2 separate regions of the Homo sapiens genome follow, and region 1 is linked to region 2. Evidence: promoter capture Hi-C in 16 types of primary human blood cells and fetal thymus (Javierre and others, 2016). All regions are on one chromosome and are shown on one strand. The core of a region is centred on a gene start or on the middle of the fragment in contact, and the rest is flanking DNA. Distances in the headings are between cores, read along the strand shown.

What was found. Contacts are between HindIII fragments. The CHiCAGO score rates a contact against its expected background, and 5 or more counts as called.
Region 1: a fragment that was not itself captured here is called in contact with the fragment with the promoter of PRSS27 in region 2 in 4 of 17 cell types (endothelial precursors, total CD8 T cells, naive B cells and 1 more); the score reaches 6.2 in endothelial precursors.

The regions. Positions count from the first base shown.
Region 1 is chr16:2,864,695-2,870,011 of GRCh38, reverse strand. It overlaps LOC101929566 (a long non-coding RNA gene), which reads left to right and starts at 1,808. Exons shown (of 3, transcript NR_188573.1): 1 at 1,808-1,920; 2 at 2,483-2,551; 3 at 3,156-3,664. RefSeq lists enhancers at 1,525-1,594, 1,605-1,784, 1,885-2,004. The HindIII fragment of the contact is 4,018 bases long and covers 2,059-5,317 here.
Region 2 is chr16:2,718,611-2,723,839 of GRCh38, reverse strand. It overlaps PRSS27 (serine protease 27), which reads left to right and starts at 3,616. Exons shown (of 6, transcript NM_031948.5): 1 at 3,616-3,725. The coding sequence starts at 3,680. RefSeq lists silencers at 1,233-1,402, 2,086-2,155, 2,286-3,045 and an enhancer at 2,779-3,346. The HindIII fragment of the contact is 5,437 bases long and covers 1-4,813 here.

The DNA.
Region 1 (5,317 bases), core at 2,818-5,317, 150 kb before region 2:
CCCAGTGTGTACATCACAGTCACAGTGATTGTCTGTTTACTATCTCCTGCCTCAGAAGACTGAGCTCCTGGAGCCAAGGATCGCGGCTTAAGCTCACCCCTGCAGCCCCATCTCTCTCTACACAGGCCTAACACACGGTCAGTGTGGAACAAAGTCTTGGTCTCCCTGCTGCTGGTTGTTCCTCTCCTCAACCTGTTCCACAAACAGATGGCTGATTCTCATCCTAAAGCAAAGTTGATTTTATCACCCCCAACTCAAAATCCTTCCCTGGCTGACTTTCGCTTTTGAAACGCTTTCAATTGTTAGCATTCAGGCCTTGCACGTGGTGCACCAAGGGCTGTTAGGATAATTGGAGAGAAAAGGTTGAGGTAAGAGTCCCGGTGAGGGTCAAGGTTAGGCAAACTGATAAGTAAATTGAGAGCCCAGCGAAGCACATAATTTCCTCTCTCCTGCTCTTCCTCAAACACTCATGGAGCACCATGTGTCAGTTTCTGCGCTGAATCTTAATAAAGCAGAAAATGATTATGTTCCTATGCTGACCCCAAAAAGACACGGACCTTGTTCTGTCTCTCCACGTTGGCTATTGTCTGACTCCAGTGGTATGCTGCTGAATGTTTAACAACTGACTTTCTGGGAAGAAAAAAAAAAAGCCCTGATTTCTACAGTTTACCAATTTCTATGGTGTAAATATTCCCACCATAGCCGATTTCAAGTCTCCAATATGATGTCATTGAACATAGAGTTGGAAAGAAACGTGCAATAGCACACTATTATATAGTATTCCCACCATACAGATAAGATGGATGTAAATCACTCCAAGAACACAGATAGTAGTAAAACAGCAAAACAATTAACCAGTGATACATTTTGAGTGTTTTCTTTCTTCATTTGTTTATTTATTATTTTTTGGACAGTAAGTCGTTCTGTCTCCCAGGCTGGAGTGCAGTGGCATGATCTCAGATCACTGCAACCTCCACCTCCAGGTTCAAGCGATTCTCCTGCCTCAGCCTCCCAAGTAGCTGGGATTACAGGTGCGCGCCACCACGCCCAGCTAATTTTTGTACTTTTAGTGGAGATGGGGTTTCACCATGTTGCCCAGGTTGGTCTTGAACTCCTGACCTCAGGTGATCCACCCGCCTCGGCCTCCCAAAGTGCTGGGATTGCAGGCGTGAGCCACCGCGCAGGCGTCTACCTTTGTTTTTAATATAATGTATTTAATTGTAGGCTCATAAAATTTATTTTTTAACAATGACGTCAAAAAATGTATTTAACATCCAGCTTGCAAAACGTCTGAAAACTTAACCATGCGCTCATGCGCACTGTCTTCAAATGCGGTTTTTGACGGTGCCCATTTTACTTCGTCATGTTTGGGGCTTTTAGTGGTCGGGACACGCAAAGCCAGGAAGAGAAACGAGGCCAACGGGAGGAGCAAAGCCGGGCTCCAGTCCCTCACGCGGCCACCGGGGGGCGACAGACACAGGCCAATGAGCAGCTGGGGATCTGAGGCCCCCGGGCTCGGCCGCTGGGTCTCTTCTCCGCCCACAAGGAGGACTGAGACGCTTTTCCTGATATTTTGGGCGTGGCCCGTCACCGGCACCGTGGCAGGGGTCTGGGGCGCTGAGGGGCCGCTCCCCACCCGGACTTAGGTCCCTGGTATTGAAAACCAGCGCTGTCCATCCGCAGTGCCCCAAGTGTCCCCGGACACCAAGCTGGCTCACTCTGGCGGCCGCCATAACCCCTGCCCGGCAGCCTCTGCGGCCGGAAGTTGGCTCGGCCGGTGTTCGGGGCATCCCTCGGGCAGTTAACCGCACTTCCGCTGGCTGGGTATCCGCGGCAAGTTCAGATCATTAGTTGGCTGGAGTTAATTAACCACCAGACAATTAGCTTATCTTTTTCCCGATCCTAAGACCAGCTGGATTGGTGAGGAGGAACTAGAGACAACAGCTTCCTTCTGAGTCACCTTGAGGCAGCAGCCACTGGGGAAATGCAGGGAAGGACACTACCCAGGCTTCCTGGAGGGGTTGGCCCCAGGGCATGCCCTGCTTGGGCGGAAAAGCTTGGAGTTTAGATGAGGAAGCCTGAATTCTCCTCTAGACCTCCTGCCAACTCTTTGCCTGACCTTGGGCAAAACATTTAACTCTCTTCTGGGCCTTGGTTTCTTTAGCAAACACTGACGCCTGCTTCTCCGGCTCGCCCCCGCGCCCCACTCCCCCCACCGCTTTTTAAATGTTTATTATTTTTTTAATCATGGTTTTATTAGGTTGGTGCAAAAGTAACTGCGGTTTTTATCATTACTTTCAATGGCATAATAGAATGGGACTCTATTTGCTGCCAGATTGGGAATTCTAAGGGTATAAATATGTATTAATAAATATTATGACCTTTAAAATTTTAAAACAAATGCAAAACCTGCAGCATTTTTCGGGAATTGATTCTCTGTACATAAAAATGAGATTAGTCAATCCTTTTGGTGTCTGTTTAGCATACAATGAGTACATCCAGATAGTTAAGACCCTTGGAATCAAGATTAAGAGAACCATCAATTAAGGAGGTATGGTTGGTTAATTCTATACTTATTTTGAAAATAAGTTAGTTGGCCGGGCGCGGTGGCTCACGCCTGTAATCCCAGCACTTTGGGAGGCCAAGGTGGGTGGATCATGAGGTCAGGAGATCGAGACCATCCTGGCTAACACAGTGAAACCCCGTCTTTACTAAAAATACAAAAAATTAGCCGGGCGTGGTGGCGGGCGCTGTAGTCCCAGCTACTCAGGAGGCTGAGGCAGGAGAATGGCGTGAACCTGGGAGGCGGAGCCTGCAGTGAGCGGAGATCGCGCCACTGCACTCCAACCTGGGCGACAGAGCGAGACACTGTCTCAGAAAAATAATAATAATAATAATAAGTATAGTTAATTCTATACTTACTTTGGAAAACACCAGCTATTCAGCACGAATAGCAAAGACACCATGACTACGTTCTACTACTGTGGGACTGTAGTAGAACACTGACGCCTGCTTCTCCGGTACCCCCCCCGCCCCCCCTCCCCCGCCTTTTTAATGTTTTATTATTATTATTTTTTGAGAGTCTCACTCTGACGCCCAGGCTGGAGTGCAGTGGGGCGATCTCAGCTCACTGCTTTCCCCTTTCTTGTTGGCAGGCAGTGCGCACCTCTCCAGGGAAATTTACTCCAGTGCTTCATCCTACCTCATTGGACACAGCCGACCGTGTTGGTCCTGGTTCCCTCTTCAAATGCTGGCTCCTGGAAATAGCATCAAAGCAAGCAGCTGATAAGACAAAACTGGGTTGTTGCTTATGCTAAGGGGAAGCACCACCTTGAAAGAGTCATTGTAGAGTGGAGGTCGGGAGGGCAAAGTTGAGATACTGAGGTTTTGGGGTTTGGTTTAAGGCAGGTCCTTTGATGTCGGACTTAATCAGGGCTGGGTAAGGATCATGTTATAATAGTTTAGGATTGTTGGTCACAGTTTTGTATTGGTGGTCACAGTGAAGTGAGGGCTTCAAAGACTCTTGGAGCTTTCTTTGATGCTCCCTGTTGAAGAGCTGTGTGGTTTTATTAATGGATTTTCCTGAACTCAAGGAGTAAGGTTATTTGCAACTTTTGTGTTTCTGGGCAAGCATTTCCTGGAATAATAAAGTCACAATAATAGAGTCATGTTATTTTGCTTCAGCAATTGTGAGTCGGAGTACTCTGCTATTTGTATCCAGAGGCACCCTGTTATGGTTTCCTTGTGTGTAAAATGGGGATTATACTGCAGAGAGAAGGGGAGGAGCTGGGCATGCTTTGAGAAGACCAAAGTTTCAACGTATTGTAGGCTTTTGGTATTACAGCAATGTAGGGCTTACAAAAATGTCTGAGTCCTGGAAAATTATCCTTACTCTGAAATAGGAAATGGAGTTGCCAAGTTGAATTACATAGTTGTTTGTTAAATGTCTCCTAGACATAATTATGTCCACTGGTCCAGTGCAACTCAGAGCACACGGTTGTGGGTCCATTGCATTTATTCTGCAGAGGGAGGTGCATGCTCATGTGTTCGAAGCCATGTGATGGGGGCTTCAAAGCTGAGAATGCTCCAGGCTTATCAAGGTCTTAAAATGGCCCTGTGACTGGCCTTTCTACTTCCTTTCTGCTTGAGTCCTGGCCTTTCTACTTCCTAGCCATGTGAATTGGGATCAACTCCTCCCTCTCTGAGCCAATTTCCTCATGTGTACAGTGGGGAAGACAATGCTTGGGGCAGAATAAGAAGGGTGAAGCGAGGTGGTGTGTTGAGTATAGTAGCAAACAGTTTTTGGAACTGAGGCCCAGATGATCCCGGGGTGGCTTCAGCCCTGCAAACTGTGGATCTGGTACAATGTACCCTGAGAGAGACCATGGACCTATAGATAGCAAGTCTGTAAAGGCTCACAGTTAATCAGGTTAGGAGAAAGCAAGAGAAATGAGGATCCCAGCCCAGGGAGCCTGGGACTTATTCAGGTCAGTTTCTGCACTGACCCACATATTTAACAACCAGCTCTTTACAGGCATGAGACAATCAGAACAGTCTTGCTGGAGATGCTGGAGGCCCTGTGTGAAAACAGGCATTCACTCTTTAAGTGTTAGATTTTGAGGATAGTGGAGGGCCTGGAGCAGCTGGGCAGTAAGGGGCACCTGGGGACTTGGGGAAATGGCTGTTTATCAACCTACAGTTGACATTCAGTTTGGCTCTACCAGAGCTGAAAATCTGCCTTGCTTAGGGGAGCATGGGAGTACCAGGTGTGGGAGCAAGTGGACGTTGGTAGTACAGCCCTGGGCAGGGCAGGCATGGATGGGGGCCAGATTCTGATCAGTGAAGCACCCCTGGGCACTCCCTTGAACCTCAAGCCTGAGGTCAACCAGTGGGGCCTTGGCTCCCTGGGGCTCCTGGATGTTTGAGCAATGCCCCCCTCAGAGAACTTTCCTAAGTTTTCAGTTTCTCCCCTCTTTTGTGCTTTGGAAAATCCTTCCTCCTTCCTGTGTCTAGGTGTCTAGGTGAGGTATTTCCTGTCTTCTCTGTCCTCAAGCCACTGTTCTCCTCTTTTACAGCAGACCTTGACACCAAATCATTAAAAACCAAAAAACTAGTTCTCTTTTCTTCAAGGGCAAGAAAGACTGAGTTTCCAAGTCCTACCAGGATATTTGCGGAAATTTTTGGATCCTATTTTTCTATGGTAAAGATAGGGAAGAAAAACAAATCACATACAAGTTTTATCTCTTTTATTTAGTTTTTTTAGACGGGGTCTCACTCTGTGGCCCAGGCTGGAGTGCAGTGGCACGATCATAGCTCA
Region 2 (5,229 bases), core at 2,367-4,866:
CTGCAGTCCAGCCTGGGAGGCGATAGAGTGAAACTCTGTCTCAAAGAAAAAAAAAGAGTCTTGCTGTGTCGCCCAAGCTGTAGTGCAATGATGCAACCTCAACTCACTGCAATCTCTGCCTCCCAGGTTCAAGTGATTCTCCTGCGTCAGCCTCCCCAGTAGCTGGGATTACAGATGTGTGCCACCATGCCTGGCTAATTTTTGTATTTTTAGTAGAGACGGGGTTTCACCACAATGGCCAGGCTGGTCTTGAACTCCTGGACTCGAGTGATTGCCTGCCTCGGCCTCCCAAAGTGCTGGGATTAGAGGTGTGAGCCACCACACCTGGCCAAAAATGTCTGTATTTCACTTTCACACCTGACTGAGAGTGTGTGGCTATTGCTGCTTACTGACCAGCACCCTTCCCTCTTCCTTTCACCATGCCCAGCCATGACTTCTAACCTTAGAAAACTGTCCCCCTTCCAGAGAGTTGATAAATGTCCAATTCAATTTTTTTTTTTGAGACAGAGTCTCGCTCTGCCACCAGGCTGAAGTGCAGTGGCGCGATCTCGGCTCACTACAACCTCTGACTCACAGGCATGAGCCATGGCACCCCGCCCCAATTCTATTTTTGAAGGGAGGGACTGATTATTTTAAAAACATGGCCGGGCATGGTGGCTCATGCCTGTAATCCCAGCACTTTGGGAGGCCGAGGCGGGTGGATCACCTGAGGTCAGGAGTTCGAGACTAGCCTGGCCAACATGGCGAAACTCCATCTCTACTAAAAATACAAAAATTAGCTGGGCATGGTGGCACAGGCCTGTAATCCCAGCTACTAGCGGGGCTGAGGCAGGAGAATCGCTTGAACCTGGAAGGCAGAGGTTGCAGCGAGCCGAGATCGTGCCACTGCACTCCAGCCTGGGAAACAGAGCGAGACTGTGTCTCAAAAAACAAAACAAAACAAAACAAAACAAAACAAAACATAAAAATCTTTCTGGATTGTAATGCCCTCTTCATTTGTTTGGTGGGTGGTATGAGGAAGGGGCCCATTCTCAGCCCTGGGTCCGTGGGCTCCAGGTACAGGGACATGGAGGCGAGGTCTGGGTTCCCGATCCTCTAATCGCTGGCGTGGCTGTGCCTTGTTCTTCAGGAGCCCAAGTTTCCCTGGCGTCCTCGCTTTCTGATCTGCATCTTTTTTTTTTTTTTTTTTTTTTTTGAGACAGAGTCTCGCTCTGTCACCCAGGCTGGAGTGCAGTGGCGAGATCTTGGCTCACCGCAAGCTCCGCCTCCCGGGTTCAGGCCATTCTCCTGCCTCAGCCTCCAGAGTAGCTGGGTCTACAGGCGCCCACCACCGCGCCCAGCTAATTTTTTGTATTTTTAGTAGAGACAGGATTTTACCGTGTTAGCCAGGACGGTCTTGATCTCCTGACCTCGTGATCCGCCTGCCTCGGCCTCCCAAAGTGCTGGGATTACAGGCGTGAGCCACTGCACCTGGCCCTGATCTGCATCTTGACTTTTGTCACTTTCTTGATTTTAAGGCAGAGACACCCTTAGAGGAATGGGCTTAAAAGGAGGGTTGGGGAGCAGACACCAAGGAACACACAGAAAGGTGCCAAGAGGAAATAGTTACCTGCGAGGCTCTAAGACTGCCTCTGAGATCCCATCAGTGACCTGACCATAGGGTGCTGGAGAAATGTGGTCACCCAGACACTTTGAAACACTTTCCGTGGTTGATAATTATTATTCTCCTTTTTTTTTTTTTTTTTTTGAGACAGGGTCTCACTGTCTCCCAGGCTGGAGTGCAGTGTTGCAATCTCGTGTCATTGCCATCTCCGCCTCCCGAGTTCAAGTGATTCTCCTGCCTCAGCCTCCTGAGTAGCTAGGATCACAGGTGCCCGCCACCAAGCCCGGCTAATTTTGTATTTTAGTAGAGACGGGGTTTCACCATGTTGGCCATGCTGGTCTCGAACTCCTGACCTCAGGTGATCTGCCTGCCTTGGCCTCCCAAAGTGCTGGGATTCCCGGTGTGAGCCACTGCACCCAGCCCGTCGCGGTTTATAATTAGAGATTTCTCTGCTAAATGATGTTCTCTCTCTCACACTGAGGTGAGGTCTGTTTGGGTCACCTTTGTATTCCCCAAACCGGGGACAGTATTGGGCTCAAATCTGCTCAGAAATGACTGACTGACTGAATGAATAAATCAATACATGAATGAATACGTTTGGAGTCCCCTCTTCCCACTCCTCGCCCTCCCTCCTTCCCTCCAGACCCCCAGGGGCTGCCCAGCCCGCCTCCCACCCCCGACCCGGGAACTCCAGGGACTGGACGGGGAGGGAAGGGTGGGAGGAGGCGGTGGAGGCGGAGGCGGAGACGCGGGAGGGCGGGGCTAGGGAGGGCGATGCGGGGAGCCGGAGCCCGGACCATGAGGCTGGGAGCGCCCCTTCTGCACCCCTGGCCGCCCGCGCCGCGCCCCGCGCCCACCAGAGGGCAGCACCACGACGCGCGCGGACAAGGCTGAGGCGGGAACGGCCGCACCCCCAGCCCCGCCCGGAGCCGCCCGGCCCCGCCCCGCCCGCGAGTACCGACCCCCGGCGCCGGCGGGGAAACAGGTCCGGCGCCCCCGACCCCACGGCCCGGCCCCACTCTGTCTCTGACGTCAGCGCCGTGCCCCAAATAACTTCCTCCCCGAGCCTCTTCCGCCGCGGCGCCGCGCCCAGAGCCAGGCGGGGACACCGAAACGGTAACCCCGGCCCGGCCTTCCCGGAGCCGCTTCCGCCCCGCCTGGTGCCAGGAAGCCCCCGCCCCTTCCAAGGGATGGCAGCCGGGGCCCGGGTCGGCCGCCTGGGCCGCGCTGGCGCGCGCCTGAGGAACTTCTGGGGCCTGCTGTCCCGGGAGGAGGGTCGCTGCGGCCAACTCCGGACCCCGCCCCATGTCCCATCGCCTCCCCTGCCCTCGGCCCCGCAAACACCCCTGGCCTTGACTTTCCCACCAGCGCGGCCCAGCCCCACTGTGTTCCATCGGCGCTCAATAAAATACTGAATGAGGCCGGGCGCGGTGGCTCACCCCTGTAATCCCAGCGCTTTGGGAGGCCGAGGAGGGCGGATCACGAGGTCAGGAGATCGAGACTAGCCTGGCCAACACGGTTAAACCCCGTCTCTACTAAAAATACAAAAAATTAGCCGGGCGTGGTGGCACCTGCCTGTAATCCCAGCTACTCAGGAGGCTGAGGCAGGAGAATGGCTTGAACCTGGGAGACGGAGCTTGCAGTGAGCCGAGATTGCGCTCCAGCCTGGGCGACAGAGCGAGACTCTGTCTCAAAAAATTAAAAAAAATAATAATAATAATAATGAATGAAGCTGGACGGACTTCGCGTGCACCGCGGTCAGCTCGGGGTCTGCTGGGGGGTCTGGGTCAGCTCAGGGTCCAGGAACCGAGGCCAACGGCACCCCGTGCTGCGCTGGGGTGAGGGGTCTGCCCTGGGGTCTCGGGGTTCAGGGCTAGGTCACGGAGGAGTCGGCTCTGGGCGCTTCCTTCCTGAGGAGAGGAGCTGGGCAGGCCGGGCCGACGGGTTGGGCCGCATAGCCGGGCCTGTGCTCATCTCCAGCATAAAACTCCACTTCATGGAGCCTGCACCTCGCTCGTGCTCCAACGCTTCTGCCACCGCCGACCACGGCCCTGCGCCCCAGCCAGGCCTGAGGACATGAGGCGGCCGGCGGCGGTGCCGCTCCTGCTGCTGCTGTGTTTTGGTGAGTCGTGAAGGTGCAGGGTCCTGGTGGTGCAGTCCCCCACCAGGCTCCGCTGCACTGCCTGGGGCTCCGGCTCAGCCCCCTACTCCCTGGGACAGGCTGGGGCTGTGGGACAGGCCATCATCCCTCCTGCCCCTGAGCAGGTGGGAAGGCTCCAGATGTGCCAAGTGGGGAGTCCAAAGTGGGGAGGCAGGGTGGGAGGTGTGCGCACAGGCCCCAGAGGACCCCACCGGCATAACTGGGCAGCACCTCCTCCCATGCCTCTCCGCGGGCACTGGTGTGCCAGCTCTGGCCAGGCTCCCTGCTTCCTGCCACCTCGGCCTCTCCCCCCATTCTCTAGGTGAGGACAGGGGCCTCCTACGTGCAGGATGTGAACTCAGGCTCCAAGTGCCTGGACCATCATACTCGGGGTGGGAGGGTGGCCGAGCCGAGGGCTGCTGCCTGTGCCCGGAAGCCCCAGCAGGCTGGCTGCAGGCTCAGTAGAGAGCTGGGGGCAGGGGGTGTAGGTGGCAGAGGGCCCTGTCTCCTGCTGACAGAGGAACCGGTGATGCGCCACCGTGCCCTCTCCCAGTCCTGGGTCAGGGACAGCAGGTGCCAGCCAGGGGGCCCCACCTGCCAGGCCCCTCCCTGCGGGCCGGGACACTCTCTGTCAGGGAAAACCTCTCACATTCCTGGGCTAGCCTAGCCAGTCTGGCAGCCACCACACTTCCCTGTCCTCAAGTCACCTCCCAGGGCTGGGTCAGGTCATCCCAGGCTGCAGCTTAGCCAGTACTCCAGGCTTCCTTGTTCTCCTGGGTGGGAGGGCACCAGTGGCCCCTCAGTGGCCCGGCCTCCCCCACCCCATGCCCCCAGTCTCCCAGCACAAGGATGGTGCCCTCTGAGCAAGCCATGTGCACAGGAGGTGGAAGGCTGTGACTGCCCCTGAGCGGGGTGAGGAACCAAGGTCATTGCCAAAACTCTTTGGCAATGAGTTTTGCAGTCGGTTCACTAACAGCTGTGACCAGAGGCTGGACTCCTGGACACGTCCTCACTCCCAGCCCGAGGGTGGCACTCCCACCAGGTCTCTGGCTGGTGGTACCCACTAAGCTTCACCATCCCCACCAGCTACCAGCGAATCACAGGCCCAGGCCCCAAACAATGCTCCTGACACCCCCGGCACCCCTGGCTGTTGCTTCCAGCCCCCACAGGGCGCCCACCCTGAAGGGCTCAGCTGTCCACATCCCCCATTTCCCATCAGCCCCCACAGCCACACTTGTGTCCATCCACACATTCCCTGAGATCAGGCCCCCCAGATGCAGCCCTTGCCTTCTCGGAGCTCCTGGGCTAAGATAAGACTTGATTCTGGCTCCAGGGTGATGTAGACAGAGCTCCCATCAGGACAGAGAGCTCAAGAGAGAGTATAGGGCTTCCAAGGTAGACAATGCAAGCAAGCAAGGAAGGCTTCCTGGAGGAGGCAGCATTCAGTTGGGCCTTGATCTCTAGATCACGATTAGGACTTGGCTGG